Linked DNA regions of Homo sapiens: regions 2 and 3 are each linked to region 1. The links are contacts of gene promoters, found by promoter capture Hi-C in blood cells and fetal thymus (Javierre and others, 2016). All regions are on one chromosome and are shown on one strand. The core of a region is centred on a gene start or on the middle of the fragment in contact, and the rest is flanking DNA. Distances in the headings are between cores, read along the strand shown. Region 1 holds the start of UCK2 (uridine-cytidine kinase 2). Region 2 has its middle 12 kb from the start of LMX1A. Region 3 has its middle 41 kb from the start of LMX1A.

Region 1 (2,756 bases), core at 184-2,683:
GTTCGGGAGCTAAAACCTCGTGGCTCTTTCCTCATGGCGCCAACCAGCCTTCCTGCTCTGCTCTCCCCAGCCGGGAGAAGCATCATCCTGCCTCTCCAAACCAGCACCCAGCACCCAGCTCTCAGGATCCCTTGAGGAACCCGTGCTCCAAATGAAGTTGGAGGGTGTTAAACGGTGGGAAAAACAAGTAGCCACATCTTAAAGGCTGTTAGGGGAGCAAAGAAAGAACCATCTGGGAGGACTCCACCCTTCTCCACCTGCAGAAAAAACCCCGGGTAAAGCTAGGAAGTCATTTCCCTTGTCTCTCCTTGCCTTGCGGATAAAACAAAGGAAACAGGCTCCTAAGAGGGTCAGACACCCATACGATGACCCCCTTCCGTGGATCCAAGACGCGTACGTCCTGGACACCGAAGAGCTTGGAGCCAGTACAACTTTCTCATTGAAGCCGACCACGTTTCCTCTTATAACCTTAAAAAACAGAAGCCCCTACTATTATCGTTTCATTGATGTCACGGCACCTATTTGGCTCTCAGACTTTTACCCGGAAACCCCTGTAATCCCCAGCCCTTGCGTGCAGCCCCACACTGGGCTCCCCTTCCCCGGGATGCCGCCTCGCGCGTTCCCGCCACCCTCGCCCTCTCGGCCGCGCTTCCCGGCTCGCTCCGCCCTCGGCACCAGGCTGCGCCGCGGGGCGAGCACGTCTGTGCCAGACCGGGGCTTGAGGGAGTCCATCGGGGGTTAGTGGGGGATCCTGCGGAAAGCCCTCTCCCCCGACACTGGAGTTGCAAAACAATAAGCATCCGCTTCCCTGCCCTTCCCCCATAGGACCCCGGCCACGAGTTATTAACGCGGGGGGAGAAAAGCCGGAGGAGCACTCCCGCCCTGCGATCGTGGCCGCGTACCCCCGGAACCCCCAAGGCCCGAGTCTTCGCCTGCCCCCGCCGCAGCGCCCCCAGGCCGCGCGGGGCGCACTCGGCGCTGGAGCGCGGCCGGGAGCGGAGGCGCGCGGGCCACGCGGTGGCTGCCGCAACTGACACGGCCCGCGGCCGCCGGCCACATGCGCCGCCCAGGGACAGAAGCCGGGAAGGGAGCGCGGCTCCGGGCCCCGCCGTACCTTGCCGCTAGCTGTTCCCCCGCTGACGCCTATAAGGAAGGGCTCGCCGCCGTTGGGCTGCTGGTGGTTCTGCAGGGTCTGCTCGCTGTCCCCGGCCATGGTTCGCGCCGCCCCTCCTCCCGCTGCCTGTGCGAACGGACGCACGCTCCCCGCCCGCGCCCGCGTCGGACTCCCTCCGCTTTCCGCAGCCGCCGCTGGGCGCTGCCGGGGCTGAGGCCGCTGTCGCTCGCCTGCGAGCCGCTCGGAGCCCGGTGACGGGGCTGGGTTTCCCGAAGGAGCCAAGAGCCTTCCTTTGCCCGCAGCGGCTGGTCCGGTTTACATCCCAGGCAGAGGTCAGCGTGATGCTGCTGCTCCAATCCGGGCGGGCAGCGCGCTGCTATTCGCCGAGGCGGAGGCGGCGAGGCGTCTGGCCCCAGCCTCCGCCCCTCCCGGGCCCCGCCGCCGCCCGAGGTCTCTGCGAAAGGTGTGAGCCCGACCTTCCCTCCCACCCGCCCGGTTAACCCTTTCTCCGACGCGCCCTAGTGGACCCTGGGGGAAAGAAACAGGCTGTTCTGTATTTTAATTTGGTATGCTACCACCTATTTTCAGAAGGGATAAAAAGCTTGAAGGAAATAATAGGCAGATTAGATAAGAAGGAATGGCCCAGGTTTGAGAAGCAAAATTTGAACAAGCTTGAAAGATTAGTGTGGAACGAAGAGTTAATGTCATTTACCCATTATCCAGGCTAAAAACTTGTGTTTCCAAAAAATGAGGGTTCTTTTTCCCTTCTCCCGTTCGCCAAGATAATATGTCAGCCGCTGGCTTTAGATATTTCCTGTCTTGGAAACCCCCCAGCGCCATCCTTTTTAGCAGGCCTGTCCTCGTGCGACTCTCTAGTGAAGGGCAATTTGAGGGGCTTATCTGAAGGGTGCCCTCCGTTGGAAAAGCAATTCCCTTCTAAACCACAGTATCTCATCCCATACACTGAGCTTCCTATGGAGTTAGGGTATCTGAAAACATACTGACATTTTGATCCATTAATATCTTCAATTGAACGGTTTTCCAGAGATTGGCAATCAGTCACTTAGAAAGGCAGTTTCAGACTCCACCTCTGGAGCCAGATTTCTGCATTCACATCCAGGTCCCTGAGCAAGTTACTTAATCTCTCTGTGCTTCAGTGTTCTTATCTGTTAAATGGGAATAATAATGGCAATTACATCCCAGGATTTTTGTGAGAATTAAATGAATTAGTGTATGTAAAGTTCTCAGAACAGTGCTGGTACAGTCTAGGCCCTGTATTAGTGTTTGAAGAGAAAAGGTTTCTAAAGCGCTGAAACTGGAAAGAAAAGTTTTGCTGGGACACACCTGAGAGAGGCAGGACTAGCCTAGTAACTTCCAGTCTCTTCTCCTGTGAACTTGGGACTAGTATCAATGAGCTGATGGGGCCTACAATCTAAAACAGAATTTACGTCAATAGCATTATCTTTTGAAACTTAGTAAATTACCTTAAATTGAAGATTATTTTGAAAAAAATAATTTTCTCTCAAGCCAGGGAAATCGAGGCTGCAGTGAGCCATGATCTCCCCACTGCACTCCAGCCTGGTCAGCAGAGCCAGAGCCTGTGTCAAAAAACAAAAACAAAAACAAAACAAAACAAAAAAAA
Region 2 (2,756 bases), core at 102-2,601, 460 kb after region 1:
GATGGTTTTCTCAATGTAATTTCTGTGCGCAGTTCCCTATGGTTGGTTCTCTTCTTCTAGGCCTCTAAATCCAGAAAGCCCGAGGGTTAAGAGAGAATCTCTTCCCCTTGCCCATCCCTGCCCCAACTCCCACCCCTCCAATTGTCCATAATCCAAGAGCTGCTCGTGGTCGTTTGAGGAGCCAAGACTTGGTTGGGTTAAGCAGATAGTCTTGAAACAAAAAGGGGACTGTGGTGGGGTCCAGCAGGGCAGGGGCCACGTGGAGAAAGAACTGGATAGAAAAACCAGAAAGAAGATGGAGATGAGGATGCTGAAATCTGTTTAACACCACAAAAGTGTGGAAAGAGAACAAAAGTTTGGGTAAAACAACTTTCAAGTTCAAAGCTGCTGTGCACACATGTGGCATGAAGATGTGGCAGGGAAGACGGTCCTTGTGTCTTTGCAGCCACTTGCCAGCAGGGTGCGCTCAAGTTCACAGCAATGCCCAGTGCCGCTGGAGCGTTGGTGGGGGCATTCTGGGAAAAGAGGGGCAAAGCTTCATTAAAAGGAATCCCAGATAATTTGGTTGAGTCTGTATTTTCCAGTGATGATGACTGAGGAGGCTCTGTTTTTAAATGCTATAACCAGCACGATTCATTTCAGTGGCTCCTGAAGAGAGGGCTTTGACGGGAGTTGCTGGTCTGCAAAGAGTCCAGCTTTGTTTTTAGCAGAGACACATCGGCCTCCTTTTCTCCCTCTTCAGCCCCTGCCTGCCCTCTCGTCGTGCTCTTTCCCTTGTGCAGATCCAAATCTGCTGCTGGGCATTTTTAGTCGAGCTAAGCTGTCGCAGAGATAAGTTCTGCGCCCACTTCTCTGTGCCCAAGGTGGCGTCTTTCTTCTCTCCCCAGGTAAGGTGCTGTCTAGAAAGAATCATGCTTGAGAGTGAGGGATGTCTGCCTTTCGATGAGATCTATGAGACTGACTCTCATGCCAGGCCATTGTGGGGCAGGAGATATTATACTTCTATTTTTCTGCGTTCCTTTGTCTGGATGGTGGGACTTGTCGGGGGGGCGGCTAGGTGACAGTTGGCCAGAGGAACAAGGAAGAACACATGTTGGGGAGGGAGGCAGCCAGTCGGCCTGCATTGTTTACCATTCCAAAGCACCAGTCACGGAGCTGCCTTGCAGGACAAGGCAAAGAACCAGGGTTAGACCTCGGAGTAAGGGTCAGGAGTAGGGGACCCGAGTTGATCAGCAGTGCCCATTTCTCAGCTTCAAGACAGTGCCTTTCACGTGTAGATGCACAGTGGGCATTTGTGGACTTAATTTTTCAGGTGGAGGATCTCTGACCCAACGATCACAATCAAATCTCTCATTAGTTTTAGTCCTGACAAAAAGTATCTATCAGTCAGAGTTCAGTTAGGAAACAAAAGCCACCCCCAGTTGCTTGATTAGAGAAAATTTAATATAAGGAATAGATAACTAGTCATAACTGAAAATGCAGGAAGAGAACACTAGGTTACCATAAATGGAGCAATTGCAAAGGGCCTACCACCCATAGGGCTGTTGGGGCAGAGTGGAGCTACAGGAGAAGGAAGAAGTTGGAATGATAAAAATTAGAGCCTTGGAGGAGATGCCTAGTGGACTCAGGACACAGACCTCTGAGGACGGGGCACAGGCAGCTGGTGTGAGTGTCTTTGAGGTGGGCATGGTGGAGCTAGCTCTGCATGAGTTGGGGAAGATGCCAGCTGGCTTCAGCTGCTGTCAGTGGGATGCTACCACTGGGATGAAGAAGCATTTCTAGGTGTTGCTCAGAACAACAGGTAGAAGTAAGGAAGTCCAAACAAGCAAACTTCTAGTAAGTAAATGCATCCTTCCTCCACCCTAACCTAGCGGAGCCTACCATGAGCCACCTGGCAAAGCAGAGAGGGGGTTTGCAGGGTCCCGGCTTCAGCGTTGCAAGGCAGGATAGAGAAGAATGGGGTTAGAGCTGAGACACAACAGCTGAAAAACTGGGACAGTGTGCTGGGCTGGAATATAGCAAAAGAGGATTTGGGAGTTGGCAAGAAGAGAATGAAACTAGAATTTCTTTTCCTTTCTTTTAAAAAATTCCTGACACTTCAAGAATAACAGATTTGACGATAAGCCACCAAGATGTTGGACTATCTGCCGGGTCTCAGAAAGCTTATATAGGTTTCTGCAGAGTAAGATGGCCCCATTCCTGACCATCCAGCTAGAGAAAGTTCTATGGAGGCTCAGCTAGCAAAGCGCTCAGGTGGGCTGGCCGCCCTCCAAAGCTGGGAAGGCCACCAGAGAACTGCAAACAGGAGAGCTACTGCCCTCTTGTGGACAACTGTGGTTCTGCAGGAGGGTAATGGGACTTGCAGGGTGCAGAGGTGGTTGGCTGGCCCACTACACCTGCCCATCTTGAACTCCAAGAATGAGTAGCTGAGAAAGGTTAGCTTGACCTTCTGATGCAAATGAGGAATCTCTCAGCATTGGTTCATGGTGGCGATGCTTTTCTTCAAGAAGAACAAAAGTCTCAGCACTGAGATCCTATTTGGCCGGGTACAGACACCTAAAGCTGAAAGAGATGCATCTGTTTCATCTGGACATCTACTTTGGGTCTTATAGTATCTTTTAGAACAGGGTTTGGCAAGCTTTTTCTGTGAAGGGCCAGAGAGCAAATATTTTAGGCTTTCGACTTTGCAATTCCAACTATTCGACTGTGTTGCTGTAGGGTGAGAGCAGTCATAGGCAGTCACTAAACAAAGGAGC
Region 3 (2,756 bases), core at 152-2,651, 430 kb after region 1:
TCTGCCTTTTATTTCCTTCTCTTATTTGTAAAGGTCAGATAATAATACACATCTTATAAGGATAAAAAGATGAAAGATGCATAAAGCCTAGTGTAAGAGAATGTACATAAGACATACTTGGGTTCTGAGTCCTGACTTTGTCATTCATGATGGACTTAAACCTCGCTGAGCCTCAATCACCGAATCTGTAAAATGGGATTCTTGTGAGGATTACATAAGCTAATGCTCTTAGTGCTGTGACTGGCACGGAAGATGGGCAAAAATATTAATTTATTTTCTGCTGAAGATTGAGATTGCAATTAAAACACAATCTTGGAGTTTCGAGGAGATTGCCAGAACATTCTATTCCACAGCCTGCCTTGGATCATCCAACATACTGTAAAAGGGACAAACAATTTCTAGTTTCTAGTTTTGGTTTAACGCTTTTCAGCAGGCAAATGGCAATGAACCAACCCATTTTGCTAACAAACAGTGCTGATAACAGGAAAGCCTGGGTGAGCTGCAGGGACCAAGCGAGTGCAGGGCTCTGATGACTGTGGAGCCTGCCTATGAGTCAGATTGGAGGAAATGCAAGCAGGAAGGGGCCATGGTTACAAACACAGGCTCGGAGTCAGCCCAGCCGGCCTCAATTAAAATCCCATCTGATCACTGAATAACCCTGGGAAAGTGATTTAACCTTTTAGACCTTAGTTCTCTACCTTGTAAACTGTGAAAAATAATAGTACCTATCCACAGGGGCCTGTTGAGAGAAGCAGATGAGATGATCTACGAACCATACACAGGGCTATGTCCAGCACGTAGTGAGCTCTCAGTTAATTTTAGTACACCATTATTATTATTATTATTCATCCAAATATCTTCTACAGGATTCCTGCTCTGGAAAGAAAGTCCAGACTCCATGGAAAAGCCCCGCCCTACACCTAACTCCTTCTCCACACCCTACCTAACCTGAGAGCTCTCCGCACCTTAGCCCCCATCCTCCACGCTGACAACTCACCCGTGCAGTGTGGGCCCACCCTTCCTCACATGGTTGGTGTGAAAGTTAAGGGAGATAATTTAATGACAGTACTTTGTACACTATTAAAGACTGTGAAAAAGATGTCATTTGCACAGTAAGTATTTCTTGGCCTTGGCCATTTTTTTCATATCCTTTAGTGAAATCAACCAAATATTTGTTTATAATTTTATACTGCTTTCTTGTTCAAAAACTTTCAATGCCTTCCTTTAGTCTATTAAGCAGTCTCAGGCCAGGCATGATGGCTCACACCTGTAATCCCGGCACTTTGGGAGGCAGAGGCGGGCGGACCACCTGAGGTCAGGAGTTCAAGACCAACCTGGCCAACATGGTGAAACCCCGTCTCTTCTAAAAATACAAAAATTAGCTGGGCGTGGTGGCAGGCACCTGTAATCCCAGCTATTTGGGAGGCTGAGGCAGGAGAATCGCTTGAGGCAGAGGTTGCAGTTAGCTGAGATCACGCCATTGCACTACAGCCTGGGTGACAAGAGTAAAACTTGGTCTAAAAAAAAAAAAAAAAAAAGTCTCACCAGGGAACAAGCGTGTCCCTCCCCACCCCCAGGGACATTTGGCAATATCTGAAGACACTTTTGATGGTCATGACAAGGGGAGTTCTGCTAGATGGAGGCTGGGGATGCTGCTAAGCATCTATAATGCACAGGATGGCCCCACAGCAAAGAATTATCTGGCCCAAAATGTCACAAGTACTGAGATGGTGAAACTCTGCTACAAAGTGTCACTAATGGAATAAAATACCAAAGAGTATCTTCCTGTCGTTTTGGAATTTTGGCTAAAGCCCCAAGGTGAGGCCATGAGGTCCCCTCATGTTCTAAGGACTTATGAAGGTAGATGAGCTGGTTCTGTGACTTATTCCTCTTCTTGAGCCAATGTTCATAGAAGATTGGAATTTAAGGAGAGAAGTCCGTAGAATAAGGAGTATTTGGGGAGTAGAGTCATGGCTTTACCCTACCCCTTCAGGGTATACAGCGAGAGGGAGGGATCCCCATTCCCGTGGCAAATGAAGGGGGCAGAAAAGAGCCACTTATTGAGTGGGCGTGGGTACCTACACAATGGGGAGGCTGGCACCTGGCATCCTGGCTGATGCTTGCCTAGCAGCAGAAACCCACTGCCCCACCTTGCCACAGAGGGTGGGGAGGGAGAGCTGGGAGGGGCCTGAGCTACCGTGAGCATCGAGATGGATGTCTCTTCTTGATAGAGACCTCTGAGGACAGGGGCCCATTGTGAGGGTGTAAGTGGGGAAGGAAAGGGAGAGCACTGTATCCCACCGCTCCCCTCCCTGTACTTCGTTTGTCCAGGATATGGCATTTTCTGTGGGCCAAGTGAATTCCCTGGAAAAAAGTTGTGTTTAGAATATCCCGAAGGTACCAAACCAACAGAGTGGCCTCTCAAGGCAAGGGGACTCCCGCAGTAGGAGGCTGTGGGTTGAACTGCTGTGGGCAGGAACTAAGGGGTCAAGCAGAGCATTCGCTGCCCATACCTATTAGCTCGCAGCACAGAGTTCCCCATGGGGCCTCCTGAAAGCTCACCATGTGCACTAAGAAGACCCACCTGTTGATACTTGCCACATGGAAGGCATCAACAGCACCACGTACTTAAGAGCACTTCTCTCTCTTCTCATCCTTTCTCCAGGGCCCAATTCCCTGGTAGAGAGTGAAGGAAGACCCAAAAAAGGAAGGAGGGGGAAGAAGGTAGAGGCAGAGAGAAAGAATTGACCACTAAG

Evidence for each region. The method cuts DNA at HindIII sites, captures the fragments that hold promoters and counts their contacts. A CHiCAGO score of 5 or more calls a contact.
Region 2: a contact is called between a fragment that was not itself captured here and the fragment with the promoter of UCK2 in region 1, in 2 of 17 cell types (total B cells and naive CD8 T cells). The highest score is 5.8, in total B cells.
Region 3: a contact is called between a fragment that was not itself captured here and the fragment with the promoter of UCK2 in region 1, in 3 of 17 cell types (activated CD4 T cells, naive CD8 T cells and total CD4 T cells). The highest score is 7.5, in activated CD4 T cells.

What each region holds. Positions count from the first base shown.
Region 1 is chr1:165,826,291-165,829,046 of GRCh38, reverse strand. It overlaps UCK2 (uridine-cytidine kinase 2), which reads right to left and starts at 1,433. Exons shown (of 7, transcript NM_012474.5): 1 at 1,115-1,433. The coding sequence starts at 1,213. RefSeq lists silencers at 545-774, 835-1,314, 1,395-1,644 and an enhancer at 526-1,079. The HindIII fragment of the contact is 2,018 bases long and covers 1-1,717 here.
Region 2 is chr1:165,367,141-165,369,896 of GRCh38, reverse strand. No RefSeq gene overlaps it. Among named protein-coding and RNA genes, the nearest start is that of LMX1A, 12 kb to the right of the region's middle. The HindIII fragment of the contact is 1,627 bases long and covers 538-2,164 here.
Region 3 is chr1:165,395,938-165,398,693 of GRCh38, reverse strand. No RefSeq gene overlaps it. Among named protein-coding and RNA genes, the nearest start is that of LMX1A, 41 kb to the right of the region's middle. The HindIII fragment of the contact is 2,969 bases long and covers 1-2,756 here.